2 separate regions of the Homo sapiens genome follow, and region 1 is linked to region 2. The links are contacts of gene promoters, found by promoter capture Hi-C in human tissues and cell types (Jung and others, 2019). All regions are on one chromosome and are shown on one strand. Each heading gives the region's core, a stretch centred on a gene start or on the middle of the fragment in contact. The rest is flanking DNA. Distances are from core to core; before and after follow the strand shown.

Evidence for each region. The method cuts DNA at HindIII sites, captures the fragments that hold promoters and counts their contacts. A contact is called where the count stands out against the background at its distance.
Region 1: a contact is called between a fragment that was not itself captured here and the fragment with the promoter of SCGN in region 2, in 1 of the 25 tissues and cell types used here (spleen).

Annotation. Positions count from the first base shown.
Region 1 is chr6:25,203,022-25,208,959 of GRCh38, forward strand. No RefSeq gene overlaps it. Among named protein-coding and RNA genes, the nearest start is that of CARMIL1, 73 kb to the right of the region's middle. RefSeq lists an enhancer at 4,540-4,834. The HindIII fragment of the contact is 3,534 bases long and covers 1,227-4,760 here.
Region 2 is chr6:25,650,846-25,656,985 of GRCh38, forward strand. It overlaps SCGN (secretagogin, EF-hand calcium binding protein), which reads left to right and starts at 1,370. Exons shown (of 11, transcript NM_006998.4): 1 at 1,370-1,640; 2 at 2,537-2,607. The coding sequence starts at 1,559. The HindIII fragment of the contact is 8,573 bases long and covers 1-3,749 here.

The DNA of each region.
Region 1 (5,938 bases), core at 1,744-4,243, 450 kb before region 2:
TCCTACTTTGTCTTCCTTCCCTCCCTGTCTTCCATTCTTAATGAAACAACTCAGCACTCTGTCAACTATCAGAAATCAGCTCAAGCACAGCCATCTACTTTGAGAAGTCTTTTCAGCACCTGGTATGTAACTCCATTGTACTCTCAGCATACATCATCTTTAACATTTTGTTTCATTCCATAATAAAGTAATATGGCCAGGCACCATGGCTCACACCTGTAATCCCAACACTTTGGGAGGCCAAGGCGGGAGGATCTCTTGAGCCCAGGAGTTTGAAAGCAACCTGGGCAACAAAGTGAGACCCCCATCTCTACAAAAAAGTCAAAAAATTAGCTAGATGTGGTGGCATGTGCCTGTGGTCCCAGCTGCTGGGGAGCCTAAGGTGGGAGGATTACTTGAGCCCAGGAGTTCAAGGCTGCAGTGAACCATAATCGCACCATTGCACTCCAGCCTGAGTGACACAGTGAGACCCTGTCTCAATGAATAAATATATGCGACCTATATGTCCAACAATAGGAAAATAGTTAAATACATTAAAAATACATATTTTGGAGAATATTTAATGTTATGAGGAAGTGTTATGTGAAAAAGCAGAATTTAAACTGTATATATTTGTGCATGTATTTAAAAAGTGAGAGGAATACACATCAAATTGTTCATTGTGATTATTTCTTTAAGAGGATGGATGGGATAGAAAGAAGTAACTTTTATATTTAATTGATTCACTTTTAAATTGGTTGAAGGTCCCCCCTGCTGTAAGTATATATTGCTTTTGGATTCTAAAACAAAACTGCTAGAAAAATAGGTGAAAAAAGTCTTAATATATTAACAAGTCAAGCCTAGCAATATGTTAAAAAGAATACATTGAGAGCAGTTGCAGATTTTCCTAGAGAAGCAAGTTTAGTTTATTGTTTGAAAAAAATGAAATTCACTATATTAACAGAATAAAGGAGATAATAAAAATCATTTTAGTAGGTACAGAAAAGGCCGTTTGGCAAAATTCATTATTATTTTATCGTGAATTTTTATAAAAGTCTCAGTAAGTTTAGAATTGGAAGGAACTTTCTCAATCTGATAAAGAACATTTACAAAATACTTATATTTAACATCATATGAAGTGGTGGAATAAATGTTTTCCCCTAAGATAAAAAGAAAAAGCAAAGATGTCTATTCTCAACACTTCTAATCAACATTGTAGAAAATTCCAAGTAATCAGCAAAACAACTATTAGAATAAATGAGTTTCGCAAAGCTGCAAGATGCAAGGTTAGTATAAAAAGCAATTATGTTTTTATATACTAGAAGCAAATGATTTGAAATAAATTTTATTTTCAATATCAAACAATTAGATGTTTAAAAATAAATTTAACAAAGGATGTGCAAGACCTCTACATTGAAAACTGTAAACATCGCTGAAGGACAATGAAGAAAACTGAAGTAAATGGAGAAATGCATCTGTTCATAGATGGAAGGCTTAATGTTGTTAAGATGTCAATTCTCCTCAAATTTACCTGTAGATTCAATGGCAACCCAAATCATAATCCTGAAAGGCGCTTTCAAAGAAATTGACAAGCTGATTCTAAAATTTACACATAAATGAAAAGGACCCAAAATAGCCAAATACATCTTGTAAAAGAAGAACAAACTTGAAGGGCTGGTACTATCTATCTCTATGATTTACTATAAAGTATGGTAATCAAGACAGTGTGGTACCAGCATAAAAAACAGACAAGTAGATAAATAGAACAGAGCTTAGAAGTAGATTCATATTTATATGGTCCACTAATTTTCAACAACAAAAGTATCAAAGCAATCTTATGCAAAAAGAAGTCTTTTCATCAAATGGTACTGAAACAACTGAAAATCCAAATGGGAAAACAAATGAACCTTGACCTTTACCCCACACCTGCACAAAAGTCAACTCAAAATGGATCACAGGTCTAAACAAAGAATAAAACTATGAAACTTCTGGAAGAATGTATTTATGGCTTGGGAGTAGGCAAAAGTTTCTTGGAAAGGACAAAGAAGGCCATAACCATCAAAAAATTGATAAATTAGACTTTATCCAAATTAAAAGCTGCTCCTAATCAAAATACACCACTAAAAAAAAATAGATAAACTCCAGACCAAGAGAAAATATTCTCAAAACTAAAGTGTGACATAGGACTAATAATTGGAATAGATAAGGAACTCCCACAACTCCGTTTCTTTAAAAGGTTCAAACCACTCAATTAAATAAGGGGCAATATATTTGAACAGATATTTTACAAATGAAAATCTACTAATGGCAAATAAACACATGAAAAAGTATTCAATATCATTAGCCGTCAGAGATTAATTATCAGAGCCCAAAAAACCCACAAATTTAAACTACAATAAGGTACTATTACACACCCATCAGAATGGTTAAAATTGAAGACTTTAACACCAAATGCTGGCAAAAATATAGATCAATAGCAACTCTGATGCATTATGGATAAAAGTGTAAAATACATAGCCACTTTCCAAAAATGTCTGGCAGTTTCTTATAAAATTAAACATATACTGAAACCATAACCCGGCAATTTCACTCCTAGGCATTTATTCAAGAGAAATCAAAGCAGATGTGAACAGGCAGAAGGAAAAAAAAATCAGTGGAAGATAGTACATTCAAAATTTTCAAATCTAAAATAAAAGTGAACAGAGATGAAGGGACTTATGAAGCAGATTAATATATGCATTATGAGAATCCAAGGAGAAGAAAGAGATAGTGAGATTATATGCAGAAATAATGACTAAAAAAAATCCCAAATACAATGAAAGACATTAATATACAAATCCAAGAAACTCAGCTTCCAAAGTGGTCCACTCCAAAACATATTATAATCAAACTGTTAAAGACAGAATTGAGAGAAGAGAGAAGCAACTCATCACATACAAGCAATCTTCAAAAATACTATCAATCAATTCTTCAGCATATACTTTGGAGGACAAAATGCAGTGGGATAAAGTGCTGAAAGAAAATGTCAGCTGAGAATTCTGCATCTGGCAAAACAGTCTTTCAAAATGATGGAAAAGTTAAGACATTCACAGATAACCAGAAACCCAGGAAATTCATTACCACTAGACCTGCCTTATAAAAAATGTTAATGGTAGTCCTTCAGGTAGAAATGCAAGGACACTTACAGTAACTCATACCCATAGGAAGATATGAAGATCTTCAGCAAAAATAAATACATGGACTAATATAAAAGAAAGATCAGCCGGGTGATTACAGCCACTTGTAATCCCAGCTACTCAGGGCACTGAGACAAGAAGATCAGCTTGAGATCAGCTGGGCAACATAGCAAGACAGTGTGGTACCAGCATAAAAAAAGACTCATGCACGCGTGCACACACACACACACACACACACACATATACATGAGAGAGGTTTATATATATAATATAATATATATATATTTTATATATATATAAAATATATATATTTTATATATATATATAATATATATATTTTATATATAATATATATAATATATATTTTATATATATAATATATATAATATATATTTTATATATATATAATATATATATTTTATATTATATATAATATATATTTTTTATATTATATATATATAATATATTTTATATATATATATAATATATGAAAGGTAATAAAAGAAAAGCAACAAAATTACAAAAGCAGCAATAAAAATTTTGCAAACTGGGTCTCTCACTGCAGCCAGAGCTCCAGGTCTCCTCTTCACTGCTCTGTGTCCTCTGCTCCTAGAGGTGCAGCTTCTGTGGCCCTGTGACCTGCAGGTATTGGGAGATCCACAGCTAAGATGTCAGGACCCCCCTGAAAGCCTAGAAATGTGTACATTTTTGATTCCATGTTTTAATTAATCATTTTTTGACAACACATTGGATGGCATATTTAAAAAGATGTGTTTAGGGAGGGGCCAAGATAGCCAAATAGAAATAACTCCAGTCTGCAGCTCCCAGTGAGACCAATGCAGAAGGTAGGTGCATTTCCAACTGAGGGACCCAGTTCATTTCACTGGGACTGGTTAGGTATTGGGTGCAACCCACAGACAGCAAGCAGAAGCAAGCTGAAGTGTCACTTCACCCGGAAAGTGCCAGAAGCCAGGGGACCTCCCTCCCGAAGCCAAGGGAAGCCGTGAGGGACCGTGCTACCAAGACTGGGTAGTGCACTTTTCCCATGGTTTTTGCAACCCACAGATCAGGAGGCTCCCTCGTGTGCCTACACCACCAGGGCACTGGGTTTCAAGCCCAAAATTGGGTGGCTGTTTGGGCAGACACCATGCTAACTGCAGGAGTTTTTTTCATACCCCAGTGGTGCCAGGAACCCAAGCAAGATAGAATCATTCACTCCCCTGGAAAGGCAGCTGAAGCCAGGGAGCCAAGTGGTCTGGCTCAGCAGGTCCCACTCTAAAGGAGCCCAGCAAGCTAAGAACCACTGGCTTGAAATTCTTACAGCCAGCACAGCAGTCTGAAGTTGACCTGCGACAATCAAGCTTGGTAGGGGGAGGGGCATCTGCTATTATGAGGCTTTAGTTTTCCCCTGACACTGCTAAGGAGGCTGGGAGGTATGGACTGGGCAGAATTCACCACAGCACAGCACAGTGGATGTGGCCAGACTGCTTCCCTAGATTCCTCCTCACTGGGCAGGGCATCTCTGAAGGAAAAGCAGCAGCCCCAGTCAGGGGATTACAGATAAAACTCTTATCTCCCTGGGACAGAGCACCTGTGGGAGGGGCAGCTGTGGGGCAGCTTCAACGAATTTAATTTTTCCTGCCTGCTGACTCTGAAGAGAGCAGCTGATCCTGACAAGGGGGATTCTCCCAGCACAGTGCACCAGCTCTGCAAAGGGACAGCCTGCCTCCTCAGGTGGGTCCCTGACCCCCGTGCCTCCTGACTGAGAGAGACCTCCCAGCAGGGGTCGACAGACACCTCATGCAGGAGAGCTCTGGCTGGCATCAGGCCAGTGCCCCTCTGGGACAAAGCTTCCAGAGGAAGGAGCAGGCAGCAATCTTTGCTGTTCTGCAGCCTCCACTGGTGATACCCAGGAAAACAGGGTCTGGAGTGGACCTCCAGCAAACGGCAGCAGACTTACAGAGGAGGGGCCTGTTAGAAGAAAAACTAATGCACAGAAAGCAACAACATCAACATCAACATCAACAAAAAAGAACCCCACACAGAAACCCAATCCAAAGGTCATCATCCCCAAAGATCGAAGGTAAATAAATCCACAAAGATGAGGAAAAACCAGCACAAAAATGCTGAAAATTCTAAAAACCAGAATGCCTCTTCTCCAAATGATCACAACTCCTTTCCAGCAAGGACACAAAACTGGATAGAGAATGAGATTGATGAATTGACAGAAGTAGGCTTCAGAAGGTGGGTAATAAACTCCTCTGAGCTAAAGGAGTATGTTCTAACCCAATGCAAGGAAGCTAAGAACCTTGATAAAAGATTACAGGAACTGCTAACTAGAATAACCAGTCTAAAGAAGAACATAAATTGACCTGATGGAGCTGAAAAACACAGCATGAGAACTGTGTGAAGCATTCACAAGTATCAATAGCCAAATCCAACAAGCGGAAGAAAGGGTATCAGAGACTGAAGATCTCCTTACTAAAATAAGGCGTAAAGACAAGATTAGAAAAAAAAATAAGGAATGAAAAGGAACAAACAAAGCCTCCAAGAAATATGGTACTATGTGGAAAAGACCAAACCTATGATTGACTGGTGTACCTGAAAGTGACGGGGAGAATGGAACCAAGTTGGAAAACACACTTCAGGATATTATCCAGGAGAACTTCCCCAACCTAGCAAGACAGGCCAACATTCAAATTCAGGAAATACAGAGAACACCACTAAGATACTCCTCAAGAAGAGCAACCCCAAGACACATAATTGCAGATACTCCAAGGTTG
Region 2 (6,140 bases), core at 120-2,619:
GCAAAGCTGGGCCCTGAACCCAGAACTGTTTTCTTCTGAACCATTTTTTTCATTATTATTAACTAAAGTCCGTGTTTATTAAAATTTTCTTAATTTTTACCTAATGGCCTTTTTCTGTTCCGGCATCACACCCAGGATAAAACATTACATTTCTTTGTCATTTTTCATTAGGTTCCTCTTGGCTATGACAATCTCTTAGACTTTACTTGTTTTCTCTAACAGAGTCATCCCTCATCAGCTACAACACCATAGCAGATATAATTCATTGTGCATTACTATGTATGGTTCTGATCCTCACAGCAACCCTCCAAAACAGATGTTTTAATCCTCATTTTATAGATAAGAAAATTGAGGCTTAGGGAGATGAGAACTAATGGTGCAGTTCACAAAGCTGGTAAATAATGGAACTCAGATCCTGACCCAGGACTATCTGACCTTGAGTGTCATGTTCTTTTCACTACTCTGGTTTAGATGACTTATACATGCATGCTTTTTATAAATAAATCTGAATGCTAAAACCAGAGTCAGGGTGCCATAAAGAAAAGTTACATCTGGTTCAACTTTCTTATCTAATATCCAAGCACTTTCTATAGATTATCCAACGAAAATTTCTAAATATATAGTCAAAAGGTATCAGTGTAGTTTGTACACGTTTCCACAAAGCCTTGCCCAATTTTGAACAGTCCTGATTGTTAGAAAGCTCTGTGTTCCTCCAACTGATTTTTATCCTTTGGTCTTAATGTGGCTCTTAGGAGCCAAACACAATCATCTAAGCCTTCTACCTAAGTACCCTGCAGGCAGACACATCTCCCCCAGACTCTCTTTTCCTGGCAGAGTACGGCTTAGTTTATATTTTCCTCAGCATCCTAATGATGCTACTTTAAATCACAGTGACTTGCAGTATCCCTGTTTAGTTGCAAGTCCTTATAGTGCATTTTGGTACAGCAATGTGTATGTCCTATACAATCAGGACTCAATAATTGCTGTTGACTTCTTCCTTAAAGGGAACCACTTACCACCATCACCATCCCTTCTCGCCTCCCCTCTCCACACACTACATTTCTAAATCCTCAAGTCCAAAGGACCCTAACACTGACACTTCTTGCAACCCTTTAAATGAGGCAGCTCTCCCTAGAAAACCCCTTGAGACACAAGTTTGGAAAGTGAGTCAAACGTAAGAGGGATGTCTTCTCCGAGTCTGAGAAGCAAGTTAAAGGGCAAAAGCAGTGAGCCGTGGACGCCTGGAGACAGTTTCTTTCTTCCTGAATTCCCCAAAGCGCAGAGACAGACAGGATCTGCCAGGACAGCGCGCAGGGCGGGGCGGGGACAGGCGCGCCAGGAGCGGGGCGGGCTTCCAGCCGCTGGTTTTGCTGAGGGCTGAGGGACGGCTCAGCGACGCCACGGCCAGCAGCGCTCGCGTCCTCCCCAGCAACAGTTACTCAAAGCTAATCAGATAGCGAAAGAAGCAGGAGAGCAAGTCAAGAAATACGGTGAAGGAGTCCTTCCCAAAGTTGTCTAGGTCCTTCCGCGCCGGTGCCTGGTCTTCGTCGTCAACACCATGGACAGCTCCCGGGAACCGACTCTGGGGCGCTTGGACGCCGCTGGCTTCTGGCAGGTCTGGCAGCGCTTTGATGCGGATGGTGAGTAGAACAAGCCACTTGCACACTCAGGTGTAGACGTGGCTCCAAGCTCAGCCCGCTGAAAGGACCTGGAGTTTCCCCTTTACTGTAGGAAAAGTTATCGACCTGGGTTGTTAATGCAGTGTACCTAATACAGTATCATTAACAGACGTTTGGCATACTGGTGATACACATCTATATACCTTGTTAAAATTCTGGGTGGTGAATTTCCACTTTCCCCTTTCCAATCTCTCTTTGTGTGCGAGCGCGCCATATATATGGTAGACATACATATATATTGTATATACAATGACTAATATCATTGTATATGTTCAAGGCTTGTGGGCTGAGACTCAGCTATTTGAAGTCATCCTTCCCTAAATGGGCTCACTTTTACGCAGTGACTTTGCTGTACACCCCTCACTCTCTCAAAATGAGAATAAATTTTATCAGCTTTCAAAACGACTCCTCCACCAAAAAACTACTTGAAAATAAAATGGAACTACTTAATATTTGTTTTTATTAATAAAGAAATAAAATATCTAAAAGGTGTGTTTTAACTCTGCAAACTGGGATTCAATACTTACACCTGTTAAGTTTCTCCAAGCTTCAGAAATTTTGGGGTTAAATTTTATTGGAAAGTTCACGTTTATTCATTGATTAAAATTCATGTACTTAATAGCCTTCCTTTTCCAAGCACTAATATAAACCCTAGCATAAAGCACGTATTCTGGAACAGTGTTTACTGTTCAAACCCATGTATTCTAGAGGTAGGTGTTGGCACTTTGTTATTGGAATAACAAAAAATAGTGTTGAGGGAAGCTTTATGAATTGTGAGATTAAAAACATATTTAGATAAATACTGTCATGTGTTTTTTATATGTTAGTATTATTTATGTTTATTTTCTCACATTTAGAAAAAGGTTACATAGAAGAGAAGGAACTCGATGCTTTCTTTCTCCACATGTTGATGAAACTGGGTACTGATGTAAGTACTTGCACACTAAGCCTTAATTTATGCCTCTTAGTAAGATACGCACATCCAAGTCTTATATTGATTGGTACCTATTAATTCCAACTCACCTCCTTTCTTCCTTGCATGTATGTAATTTCTCCCCCTCTCCTAGCAACATAGAGGGATTTAGGCAGTTTTTATAAAAGGTGCAACTGTAGCATTAGACATGCTGGTTACTGACTTTCAGTGTAACATCTGTCATCCACTCAGAGATCCTAACTGTAGACTCAGTTAACTTGGTCTTGAACGTCTCCTTGGTTATGTCTCTGCTAATTGATTTATACCTGGGGGTAAAGTAGCCCACTTTGTTCAAAAAGCTGGAAAAGATGTTAAGCACATTAAGATTTTGGGTGTTTAATATGTATGATACTCCTCTGATAGCAAACCACAAACCATTTAAAATCATTTATCCATTATTCATTTTATTAGAAGAGGTTACAGATTTTTCAGGGAATGACAAACCAGAAAACAACCAGCATACTCAGAGCCCAGATACAAATGGAAGCCAATCTATCTAGTGTCCATCTGATGGTAAATATGTCCTTGGGAGATGTAAATGAACTCTTGAAAGTCTCTCTATCAAAGCAGAGAAAAATTTTACACAGAAACACATGAGCGGAGGACAGCCTGGGGATGGGCTCGATCTGATGAAAGCTCCAGTAGGGCATTCATAGTAGAAGGAGACGCTCTAGGGACAATTGAATTTAAATGAATGATGGAGATAGTTTGTCCTTATCATTCAGCTGTTTATCTGAAGAATAGAAGTGCATCACATTCTCATGTGAGAGCTCAGTGAGGGAACAAGGAGCTCTTCACCACTGTTGAGAACATGGGGAGGGTATGTGGGGGGCAGGGGAAGCTGGTTCAGAAACAAAAGGGCTGGCTTCCGCCTTCTTCAGCCACACAGATCTCTTGGTCCCCCTCTACTTCTGTCTGCCTCTCATATTCTGTCTGTCTCTCTTTTTTATGTCTATCTCTGTCATTTTTCTGCTCACTTCTGTTTCTTATCTCTGTGTTTCATGGCTCTCATCTCCTACTGTTTCTTGCCTTTCTCTCTGACCTCTCTGTTGCCCATCTTTCTTGTCTCTGTTTCTCATTTGTTTCTCCATCTCTCTGTCTCTGTGTTTTCCCATTCTTTTTCCAGTCTCTCTGCTTCTCAAAGCTCTTTTGGTCTTTCCTCTCCCCATGTCTTTTATTTCTCCTTTCTTCTTTCTTTCCCATCTCTCTTTTTGACCTTCATTTCTTTTCTCCACATTTTCTCCTTCACCCTTTTCTTTGTCTCTTATCTCCCTTTTTCTGTACCTTTTATTGCTCTTTGTCTGCCTGCACTCCACCCCTTACCCTGTGCAGCCTGTGAAGTGAAAGGATCAGCAGACGAGAAGGATAGAGACACAAGTCCCTTCTTTCCTCTGGTCAGACCACTTGCGCACACTCCTCTTTATCCTTCATTCTTGTACCTACACAAGCTACAGGTAGAGCTGAGGAAGCCTCCCCCAAGTGAGGCTTCTGCTTCAATCTAGCCAGCCACTTTCACGTGCTAGCAGCCCATGGTGAAGCCCACCAGCCTTGCCCACAGGGCTTCTACTTATATCTGTAAATGTAAGGTTCATCGTGTTCCAGAAACCCATCTTATCTATCATGGACATGGGTATTTGAGGAAAGCAAAAAGACAAAGTTAAAACCATTCAAAATCTTGGAATAAATGGGATGGCCAGCTCCTAAAAATCTGTCCTCAGGGACCTGGAACTTCTCACCTTTTCAGAGGGCTCCTTGTTCTAGTCATTTATAAAAGGGAGGAGAAAAATTGCTGTCACTGTTGAAGCTGGAGTATCTAATATTCATTCATCGAGTTGGGGTCTGCACTAAGATGAGGATGCTGTGAGATATCTTCATCTGAGATTTTGGCTAACCTTAGAAGCATTGTTGCCATTGTGAGAGAAAAGAGGGATGTCATCTCTTGCAGCTTGGCTGTTTTTATCATTGCCCCTATCTCAGACCTGGTCCATGGACTAATGCTCTTACACAGGGGCAAGCATAATCCTCGAGGAAAGAGGACAGCAAAGGACTCACTGGTGTCCTGCGCAACTGCATTCAGTGCAAATATCTCTGAGGCTGGAACGGGGGTTGGAAGTTCTCATAATCCTTAACCTAGTGCAAATCAAATTTCAGTATGCCTGAGAATTATATTTTTTTGTTAAAATGCAGACCCCTAGGTCTCATCCTGTAGGTATTTAAATACATTTGGGGTCTGCCAAAGATCTTTCATTTTAAAAGCACTCAAAGTCAGTTAGCATGTTTTTTTACCCTTTTTTCCTCTAGGAACAGTGACTTTTGGAGAGGGGATTCTGATATAATTAGGCCAATCCCACTGAGCTGTGGCAATAGCCTCAGGCACATCTCATGAGCACTTGGCTGGGAAGAAAGCTTTTGGAGCCAGGATGATAAGTTTGAACTCTTAACTAGAAATGATATCATCTGCCATTGGATGCCTTTCAAAACGCTGAGGCATTACTCTGGGGAGTGTGTTTGCAGGGACTTTCACTGGGCACTCCATGCTACCTGGACAACCATGATTAAGGAAGCTATTCCTAATTTTGGGTTTTGTCTCTGATGAGTAATAAGTAGGCCTTAAGCAAGTTCTTAACAATAGGGCAGGACTTCCAAAATGGAAGGCCCTTCAGTTGAGGAACAGTCACCATTTGATTGTGACACCTGCTTTTGATTGGTAATGCCCAGTGAGTACAGAATCCAGCAGCAGGGAGGCCTCCACAATCAGGCAGCCCCTTGCTCTGGTGTTCAGCAGTGGTAAGCCAACCTTCAGAGGCATGAATAGCTCTACTTTCCTCTGATGATTAGCGGATCACAGAGATCTCAGAAGAAGGTATTTTGAGGTTTCTAACAGCAAGCTGCCTGCTAGTCTATCCAGGAGAGCAACCAGCCTGCTTGTAATTACCTATTCCTCAGAGCCTCGGAGGGGATTGACTTAATGGAACCATCAGCTGCAATTGCTGCTGTTTCTGTTACTCCCTGCAAACCTTTTCTTTCCAAATGCTGAGATTTTAGCCAGTTCATGGATAAACATCAGATTCTATGTGTACATACCCCTCACATACAGACTGTACCACATCCTGGGCCTCTTTCAATACTTCAGGGATTATAGTACCCTGCTGTAGCCTAGCGTCTCAGATAAGGACTGATGGGAAATTACAACAGAGGAAGCCCCAGTTTCTTTTGCTTTAGGTCAAAGGGATAGTCATGAGCTTTGGGGTTAGGGGTCTGAGAAGACAGAAGCCAAGATTCTGTGTCCTCAAACTAAAGGTAATGTAGAATCTGGCCACTGTTACTTTGACTTCACATTTATTTACTTTAAAATCTAATTTTTCACCAACATGACCTATGTTAGTTAACTTCCTTTGGGAATTCCCAGCCCATCATAAAGAATCATTTATTCATCCAATGGATCCTGTGTTCCAGAGATAAAGAAATGAATGTTATACTTGTGGAGT